Linked DNA regions of Homo sapiens: all the other regions are linked to region 1. The links are contacts of gene promoters, found by promoter capture Hi-C in human tissues and cell types (Jung and others, 2019). All regions are on one chromosome and are shown on one strand. The core of a region is centred on a gene start or on the middle of the fragment in contact, and the rest is flanking DNA. Distances in the headings are between cores, read along the strand shown. Region 1 holds the start of LCAT (lecithin-cholesterol acyltransferase). Region 2 overlaps NFATC3 (nuclear factor of activated T cells 3). Region 3 overlaps NFATC3 (nuclear factor of activated T cells 3).

Region 1 (3,165 bases), core at 1-2,500:
TGCTGCTGTCCAGGTACTCCACAGAGTAGGTCTTGCCAAAGCCAGGGACGCGGATCTGGACACCAGGGGCGTTGGACACGAGCCCAGAGCTCCGGTTGTAGACAACCCTGCGGGGCGGGGGTGCCACTCAGCAGCCAGTAGCCAAGGGGCAGCGTGTTGGGGCTAGGGTGGAGCACATGGCTGTACCTGGTGTTATCGATCCAGCAGTCTACCCCAAGGGGTAGGAACATGTTGAGATCCAGCCAGATGGTGAAGAAGTCCTCTGTCTTGCGGTAGCACATCCAGTTCACCACATCTGGTTTGTCCAGCTTGGCTTCTAGCTGATTCCCCAGGCAGCCGGGCACTGTGAGCAGCAGCCCTCACTCTGGACTCTGGATTCCCCCCGTGACCCTTACCCCCGTCACCCCAGATGCTGCAGTGACCAGACCCACCCCCCACCTCCCATACCCTCAACCCCCAGGTACAAAGCACACTTACCCTCCCCTGCTTACACCCCCTCTCCCTGCTGTCCCCCCAGTAGCCAAAGCCCAGGCTTCCCTGAGGAAGGGAAGGCGCTGAGGTGCTGAGGCCAAGGCCGCTGACCCCTGCCTCTGCAGAGCAAACACCCAGTCTGGCGCTCCTTTATTGCCAAAGTCCAAGGTGGGAACAGATAGGTCTGGGGGCATGGGGGCTGGGCCTAATAGGGGCCGGGCATGGATGGGCCTCTCCTGCTCACCGATCCTGGGCTGGGCATCTTGTCCTTGGTGGGTGGGGGCCAAGGAAGGAGTGGTGGGGCTTGGCCCAGAGTCTGGTGTGGCTGTGACTGACCACAGCTTGTGATGCCCCAGCCAAGACCTCAGGCACACCCCGTCCCCCACTCCGCCCCCCCTGGGTTAGACAACTGAGAGTCACAGTGTGGTGGGAGAAGGGACGTCATTCCTCTAAGGGACAAGCTTTTGGCCCCTCCCCACACCAGGGCAGGTACTTATGTCGGGGCTTATGCAGGGCAGAAGGGCTTTGGCCAGGTCAGCTGCCAGGGGCTGGGGCCCAGGCTCCCCAGGGTCTGGCGTGGTGCATCAGGGGCCTGGTGGGGGCTTACCGAGGATGACGGGCCGTGTGTGGTTACTGAGCTCAGCCTTGGGCGTGGTGTGCGGGGGGAAGAGCACATTGAGGAGCCAGAAGGGGGCGGCAGGAGGGAGCAGCAGCCCCAGCAGCAGCGTCACCCACTGCCATGGGGAGCCGGGCGGCCCCATTCCAGCCCTGGTGCCTACTGCCAGAGAAAGCGGCACTGGGCTGTCCTTATCTGGTGTGGGAGTGGGAGGGGCCCTAGGGCCAGTGGGAGGGACGGCCTGGCCAGTGGGGGTTGTGGCCAGAGATTGCCGGAAAGGGGCACAGCCTCAGGGAGCCGGCTCTGGGCCTGGGTTCAGTTCCGCCTTCTTCTCTTGGCGCCAGGGGAAACAGAGCCGGGGCAGCAGGAGGCCCAGAACTACACAATGTTTTATTGAAAAAGTCAGGCCTCAGCTCAGCTGTCTCCATTCGGCTCAGCTTGGTGGGGGGCCCTGCCCATAGTAGACTGAGCCAGATCTTCCTGCAGGCAGCTGGGCTGGACTCCCTCCCTGGCTACCCTTCCCTTCGTCTCTGATGGTGACATCCAAACAATAAATATGCAATAAATAGCGCTCCTGGGCTGGGCCGGGCCGGCTGCCTTCAAACCCCACTCGGCCCCTACCAGTCTTCTCTGGCCAGGACAGGCCTACTGGGGTGCTAGATAGTAAAGTCCCCAAACATCCCAGGGTCCCACAAGACCTGGGATCCATCTCCATTTTGAGGCCCAGGCCTGGTTTCCAAGGAGACCTAGCAAAGCTGGGTCCAGGACAGGGCCAGGCAAGCAGGGCTGGCAGGTGGGTGCTGGGAAGAGGCTGTTACCCCAGACCACAGCTTGTTATGTCCTGGCCAAGACCTCGACTCCAGGCCACAAGATGACACTGGGCTCAGGAGTAGATGGTGATGACTTCACGGCCACCACCGCGCACCAACAGCACCCGCTCAAGGCCCTCGGTCAGCACCTCGAGGAACTCCATGTCTGCAGGGCCTCAAGTCAAGGAGGCAACAACAGAATCAACGGGCAACCCGGGCCACCTGGGCCATGCCCACCCAGGGGTGCCCAGGAGAGAAGCCGCTGGCTTGACCTCCCATGCTATCCACCTCCCAACTGCCTGCCTCTCCACAAAGGGATACAGTTCTCGTCGCCCTCACTGTTCCTGGGTGGGCCAGGCATGTTTAGGAGAACCAGGCGGGCGTCGTGGGAGCGCGTGACAATGACTTCATTGAGCTTCACAGCAGTGTGCATGCGCCGCACATTGGATTGGTCCCTACACGTAGTGTAGCCAGTCACAGGTCGCCATGAGCCATCCTGCAAGGAGGGTCCCCACCCCTGGCCCATCTAACACTACTTGTCTGCCCCACCCCACCTCCACCCCTAGATTCCAGTGCCGCTGGGGCTGTTTTTGCTGCACTCACGGCTTAATGTGCACCAGCTCCCGGAAATTGTCAGGGGCATGGCTGGGGTCCCAGGTCTCAGTCATGTACTTGTCCCTGGTCCACGTCATCTGGATCTTGTCAGCCCCCACTGCAGACTCATCTTCCTCGTCCGAGTACAGGCTCTCCAGCCGCAGGGCCGAGTGCCGATCCTTGACCAGCTGGGCCTGAGGACAATTGCAGGAGATAGCCTTGGTCCCATAGGAAAAGGGGGATGGGGCCTGTCTGGCCCAATGTGACCACCTTGCCTCCGGGAAATGAGCACTAGCTTGGGTAGGGCTGCGGTGAGTCATTCTGATTCCTCCGCACCCACCGATGCGGTCTCCAAAGGCCTGACCCTGCCACCCGCCCTGGCGTGAACCACAAAGGGCACTGACTTCTCGCTCCCGCTCAGTCTTGGTCAGTCTCATCTGCCGCAGCATCTGCGACCGCTGCTCCATCATCAGCGTCCGCTCGTAGGTGTATGCAGAGATGTCACTGTTATGCTGGGGACAGGGTTGGCCGTGAGGACCCAGCTGCACGGGACATGGTATCCACGGGGCCAGGGCAGGGCAGAGGGCTCACCATCTCCACCACCTCCACCTCGGCCTCAAGGCGCAGATGGTACAGAAAGACAGCCAGGTCCTTCTTCATCTGGATGCTGTTGTC
Region 2 (3,165 bases), core at 353-2,852, 180 kb after region 1:
TCTCTTCTAACCTCTTAACTCATTCTTCTTTTTCTCCCTAATCCTAAACTTTGGAGTTCCTTGTGCCTCAGTTGCCTACTTTCTTCTCTATTTGTACTAATTTCTTAGTGATCTTTTGGTCTTATGGCTTTAAATTTCATATATACGTTAATGATTCCCACATTTACATAGCTAGCTTGTGTTCTTATGCACAAATATCTATTTGACATTTCCACTTGGAAAGCTTACTGGACTCTCATATTTAATATGTACAAAGTAGAAGTTTTGGTTTCTTATCTCAAGTCTGTCTCACTTTCTTTATTTCAGTAATTGCTGTTCTTTCAGAAATTCAGAAAATTTCAGAAATACTGTATTGTTGTTGTTGTTTTTTGAGACAGCCTCGCTCTGTTGCCCAGGCTGGAGTGCAATGGCGCGATCTTGGCTCACTGCAAGCTCTGCCTCCTGGGTTCACGCCATTCTCCCACCTCAGCCTCCCGAGCAGCTGGGACCACAGGCGCCTGCCACCACGCCCGGCTAATTTTTTGTATTTTCAGTAGAGATGGGGTTTCACCGTGTTAGCCAGCATGGTCGTGATCTCCTGATCTCGTGATCCACCCGCCTCGGCCTCTCAAAGTGCTGGGATTAAAGGTGTGAGCCACTGCGCCCGACCAATACTGTGTTTTTAATAATAGTTCAAGGCTTTAAACCTTGGTGTCACCCTTGACTGTTCTTTCACATCCAGTCAACAAGTTCCGTCAGCACTACTTTAATCCAAAATCTGACTTCTTAATGCTGCTTCTGCTTTTACAGCTCACTACCACTTAGGTCCTGTATTCCATCTTTTCTCACCTGGATGATTACAGTAGCCTCCTAAATTTATATCAGTTCATATATATCAAATGATGATACTTTTCTGTTTAGAATGCTCCAGTGGTTTCCCATCTCGTAAGGCCTTACTTGACTAGCCTCTCCCTGACCACCCGTAGCTCTCATTATTCTGCCTCCTTACTCAGTTCAAGTCCCACTGGCCTTGTTTTTTCTCATACAGTACACTTCAACAATGCTGTACCTCAGGTCTTTGCACTTACTATTATCCTCTGCCTGCATTATGCCCCTAAATTTCTGTATAGCTCAGTTACATTAATATTCTTCTGCTATTTCCTCAAGTATTAGAGAAGGCTTTCCAGACTTTCCTATTAAATTAACATCTTTGCCTCCTCTATATTTTTTCCCGTTTTATTTTCTCTTACAGCAAATATCACTACCTGACATATTTTACTAGAATGTAAGCTCCATGAGGAGGGGATTTTGTTTTGTTTACCATGGTGTTTTTAGTATTCAGAACATGCCTGCTTACATAGTAGTTGCTAAAAAATTTTTTTGTTAAATGAATAAGTTGAATCATGTTGTTTCCAGTGTAGACAGAATAGGTATATGTGGTTGAAAAATGAACAGCACAAAGTTAGCTCCCCAAAAATGGCAAAGTGAAATAAAGAAACATTTCTGAAGAACATTGTTGAACTGTAATCCCAGCACTTTGGGAGGCTGGGGCAGTTGGATTGCCTGAGCCCAGGAGTTCAAGATTAGGCTGGGCAACAAAACGAGACCCTGTCTCTACAAAAAAAAAAAAAAAAAATTGCTGGGAGTGGTGGCATGCACCTGTGGTCTCGGCTACTTGAAAGGTTGAGGTGGGAGGATCACTTGACCCAGAAGTTTGAGGCAGCAGTGAGCTATGAGTGCACCACTGCACTCCAGCCTGGGTGACAGAGCGAGACCTAGTCTCAAAAAAAAAAAAAAAAGTCCGGGTGTGGTGGCTCATGCTTGTAATCCTGGCACTTTGGGAGGCCAAGGAGGGTAGATTGCTTGGGGTCAGGAGTTTGAGACCAGCCTGGACAACATGGCAAAACCCTGTCTCTACTAAAAATAACAAAAATTAGCCGAGTGTCATGGCAGGCACCTGTAATTCCAGCTACTTGGGAGGCTGAGGCTTGAGAATCGCCTGAACTTCGGAGGCAGAGGTTGCAGTGAGCCAAGATCGCACCACTGCATTCAAGCCAGAGAGAGACTCTGTCTCAGAAAAAAAAAAAAAAAAAAAAATTAGCTAGGCATGGTGGCGAGTGCCTGTAGTCCCAGCTACTCAGGAGACTGAGACAGGAGGCAGGAGAATTGCTTGAATCCAGGAGGCAAGATTGCGCCACAGCACTCCAGCCTGGGCGACAGAGCAAGACTCCATCTCAAACAAACAAACAAACAAACAAAGAAAAACCCACTTTTGGAACTCTCCTACCTTTGACTACTTGTTATGTTGGATAATATATACAGGTTGATAATGCAGGTTGTTATGTTGGATAATATATACAGGTCATATTCAAAATCTGGAATGTTCCAATATCCTATACTTTTTAGCTCTGACATGATGCCACAAGTGGAGAATTCTTAACACAGACTTTTTTTCATTCACCGAATTATTAAAAAATATTGTCCAAAATTACCTTTCAGGCTATGTGAATAAGGTATATATGAAACATAAGTGTATTTCATGTTTAGACTTGGGTCCCATATCAAGATATCTCATTGTGTATTTGTAAATGGGCCAAAAAAAAAAAATCCAAAATCCCAAGCACTTCTGGCCTCAAGCATTTTGGATAAGGGATATTCAGCCTGTGTCCCCTCCCCCTTTTTCAGCTACATTGAGTTGGATTTTCTGTTCTTTGCAGCCTAGGAATATCTCATTTCTTTTCTTTTCTTTTTTTTTTTTTTTTTTTTTTGAGACGGAGTCTTGCTGTGTCACCCAGGCTGGAGTACAGTGGCGTGATCTGAGCTCACTGCAGCCTGTATGCTATGAGTATTTTTTAGAATTATGGATGTGTTTTTTTTTTTTTAATAAACACATTTATTGAGCTGGGCACAGACGCTCCCTCACACCTGTAATCCCAGCACTTTGGGAGGCTAAGGTGGGAGGATAGCTTGAGCCCAGCCTTGGCAACAAAGCAAGGCCCTGTGTCTACCAAAAATGACAATAAAAAGTAACCAGGAGTGTGGCATGTACCTGTGTCCCAGCTACTCCAGAGGCTGAGGAAAGGATCACTTGAGCCTAGGATGGGAGGTTGAGGCTTTAGTGAGCTATGATCACACCATTGCACTCCAGTCTAGGTGAGAGAGTGAGACCCTGTCTCAAAAAAAAAA
Region 3 (3,165 bases), core at 295-2,794, 160 kb after region 1:
TCTTGGGCAGCATTTGGTATTAACACCTTTTTTTTTTAATCATTCTGATGGGTGTGTAGTGATACCTCATTGTGGTTTTAATTATATTCTTCTCATGACTAATACTGTTGACCATTGTTTTATGTGATTTTTGCCATCCGTATATTATTTTTGGTCTAGTGTCTAAGTCTTTGCCCCTTTTTAGATTGGGTTGTTTTCTTATTGTTGAATTTTGAGAGTTCTGTGTGTGTGTGTGTGTGGGGTGTGTGTGTGTGTGTGTGTGTGTGAAACAAGTCTATCAAATATATGCTTTGCAGAGAGTTTCTCTCAATCTGTGATTTGTTTTTTAATTCTATTAATAGTATCTTTTGTAGAAGTTTTACATTTTGATGAAGTTTGCCTTACCAATTTTTTCTTTCATGGATTGCACTTTTGGTGTTACAGCTAAGAAATCTTTGCCTAACCCATGCTCACAAAGATTTTCTCCTCGGTTTTCTTTTCTTTTCTTTTTTTTGAGACACAGTCTTGCTCGTGTTGCCCAGGATGGAGTGCAGTGGCATGATTATGGCTCGCTGCAGCATCAACCTCCTGGGCTCAAGCTATTCCTCCTGCCTGAGCCTCTGTAATAGCTGGAACCACAGGTGTGCACCACCATGCCCCGCCAATTTTTAAATTTTTCGTAGAGATATGGTTTCACTGCATTGGCCAGGCTTGTCTCAAACTGTAGGGCTCAAGTGATCCTTCCTCCTTGGCCTCCCAAAGTGTTGGGATTACAGGAGTGAGCTACTGTGCCTGGCTGCTAGGTTTTCTTTTGGAAGTTTTATAGTTTTAGGTTTTTTTTTTTGTTTTTTTTTTTGAGACGGAGTCTCGCTCTGTTGCCCAGGCTGGAGTGCAGTGGCGCGATCTCGGCTCACTGCAAGCTCCGCCTCCCGGGTTCACGCCATTCTCTTGTCTCAGCCTCCCAAGTAGCTGGGACTACAGGCGCCTGCCACCACGCCTGGCTAATTTTTTGTATTTTTGATAGAGATGGGGTTTCACCATATTATCCAGGATGGTCTTGATCCCCTGACCTCATGATCCGCCCGCCTCTGCCTCCCAAAGTGCTGGGATTACAGGCATGACCCACCGCACCCGGTCCCAAAGTATCTTTTAGGTGCCTGAGTCTCAGCATTTTTGACACATCAATTCGTCTGTCAATTTTATTTTCTTGGAGACTTTCCTTTCTCTCAGAGCCTTCTAAACTAATCTGGATTAGTGGATACCTAGCATGTTGTACATCTGTCATTGTGAGACCTCACTTCTCTGTCATCTTGAGTTCTTTGCATTTCTGTTATTGTGTTGTCATTTGTTTCTTTGCAACTCATTTTGGTGGAGTACTTCCTTCAGTAGCTTACTGATGGTAATAGGAGGTAAATTTTTGTGACCTTATATATTTAAAGGTCTTCACCAGGCGCAGTGGCTCACGCCTGTAATCCCAGCACTTTGGGAGGCTGAGGCAGGTGAATCACAAGCTTAGGAGTTAGAGACTAGCCTGGCCAACATGGTGAAACCCCGTCTCTACTAAAAATACAAAAAAATTAGCTGGGTGTGGTGGTGCGTGGCTGTAATCCCAGCTACTTGGGAGACTGTGGCAGGAGAATCGCTTGAACCCAGGAGGCAGAGGTTGCAGTGAGCCGAGATTGCACTACTGCACTCCAGCCCTGGTGACAGTGTGAGACTCCATCTCAGGAAAAAAAAAAAAAAAAAAAAAAAAAAAGTCTTCATTCTCCCCTCACACTTAATTTTGGCTGGTTGTAGAATTCTAAGTTAGATATCATTTTCTCTCATAAATTTGAAGGCATTGCTCTCCATTTTCTCCATTTTATTCCATTGTTGTTGAAAAGTCTGATGCCATTCTGATTCTTGATTCTTCATGTGTAACCTGTTACCCTCCTCTGAGTCTTTTAGGTTCTTCTCTTTGTCCTTTGTGTTCTGATTTTTTCAGTTCCATTGTAATCTCAGGAGACCATTTTCACATACGTGGTCTGTCATTGACCAAAACATCATCAAGCAGTACCTGACTACCTACAAATGTAATTGCTTGTCATATGGTAATTCTCTATGTAAATTTTTGAGGCACCATCAAACTCTTTTCTACAGCAACTCAGCTGTATCACTTTACATTGCCACTAGTAATATATGAGGGTTCTTATTTATCTGTATCCACACTAACACTTGTTTTCTCTTTTTGTTTATTTTTTCAAATTAAAGCCATCCTGGGAGTGTGAAATGGTATCTCTCTGTGGTTTTTATTTGCATTACCTAATGACCAGTGATGTTGAACATCTTTTCATGTGCATGTTGGTCATTTGTATATCTTCTTTGGAGAAATGCCTATTCATGTGCTTTGTCCATTTTTTAATTCAGCTGTTTGACTTTTTGCTGTTCAGTTATAAAAACTCTATATATTCTGGATACTAAAGCCTTATCAGATCTAAGATTTACAGATATTTTTTCCCATTCTGTAGGTTGTCTTTTCACTTTTCTTTTTTCTTCTTTTTTTTTTATTTTATTATTATTATTATTATTTTCTTCTGAGACAAGGTCTCACTCTGTTGCCCAGGCTGGAATGCCATGGTGTGTGATGTTGGCTCATGGCAGGCAGCCTTGACCTCCTTGGCTCAAGTTAGCTTCCCACCTCAGCCTTCCAAGTAGCTGGGACTACAGGTGCATGCCACCATGCCCAGCTAAGTTTTGTATTATTTTGTGGAGATGAGATTTCACCACGTTGCCCAGGTTGGTCTCAAATTCCTGGGCTCAAGTCATCTGCCTGCCTCAGCCTCCCAAAGGGTTGGGATTACAGGCATGAGCCACTGGGCTTGGCCTCACTTTCTTGATGGTGCCCTTTGGTGCACAAAAGTTTTTAATTTTACCAAGTTGTATTAATTGAGTTCTTTTGTTGCTTGTGCTTTTACTATTAAGAATCCATCGCCAAATCTGAAGTCTTGACAGTGTACTCCTATTTTTGCTTCTAAGAGTTTTATGCTTTTAGCTCTTATATTTAGGTTGTTGATCCTTTTTGAGTTAATTTTTGTATATGGTATGAGGAAGGGGTTCAACTTCATTCTTTTGCATGTGATAATCCAGTTTTCCCAGTACCATTTGTTGAAGGAACTATTCTTTTTCCATTTAAAGTCTTAGCACCCT

The links. Contacts are between HindIII fragments. The study calls those that stand out against the background at their distance.
Region 2: a contact is called between a fragment that was not itself captured here and the fragment with the promoter of LCAT in region 1, in 1 of the 25 tissues and cell types used here (dorsolateral prefrontal cortex).
Region 3: a fragment that was not itself captured here is called in contact with the fragment with the promoter of LCAT in region 1 in 1 of the 25 tissues and cell types used here (spleen).

Annotation. Positions count from the first base shown.
Region 1 is chr16:67,942,870-67,946,034 of GRCh38, forward strand. It overlaps LCAT (lecithin-cholesterol acyltransferase), which reads right to left and starts at 1,251. Exons shown (of 6, transcript NM_000229.2): 1 at 1,079-1,251; 2 at 187-343; 3 at 1-107. The coding sequence starts at 1,232. SLC12A4 (solute carrier family 12 member 4) reads right to left here. Exons shown (of 24, transcript NM_005072.5): 20 at 3,082-3,165; 21 at 2,895-3,002; 22 at 2,500-2,684; 23 at 2,218-2,351; 24 at 605-2,062. The coding sequence ends at 1,971. RefSeq lists an enhancer at 1-382. The HindIII fragment of the contact is 35,269 bases long and covers 1-3,165 here.
Region 2 is chr16:68,118,518-68,121,682 of GRCh38, forward strand. All of the region lies in intron 1 of NFATC3 (nuclear factor of activated T cells 3), which reads left to right. Among named protein-coding and RNA genes, the nearest start is that of NFATC3, 35 kb to the left of the region's middle. RefSeq lists a silencer at 555-684. The HindIII fragment of the contact is 9,616 bases long and covers 1-3,165 here.
Region 3 is chr16:68,100,667-68,103,831 of GRCh38, forward strand. All of the region lies in intron 1 of NFATC3 (nuclear factor of activated T cells 3), which reads left to right. Among named protein-coding and RNA genes, the nearest start is that of NFATC3, 17 kb to the left of the region's middle. The HindIII fragment of the contact is 6,699 bases long and covers 1-3,165 here.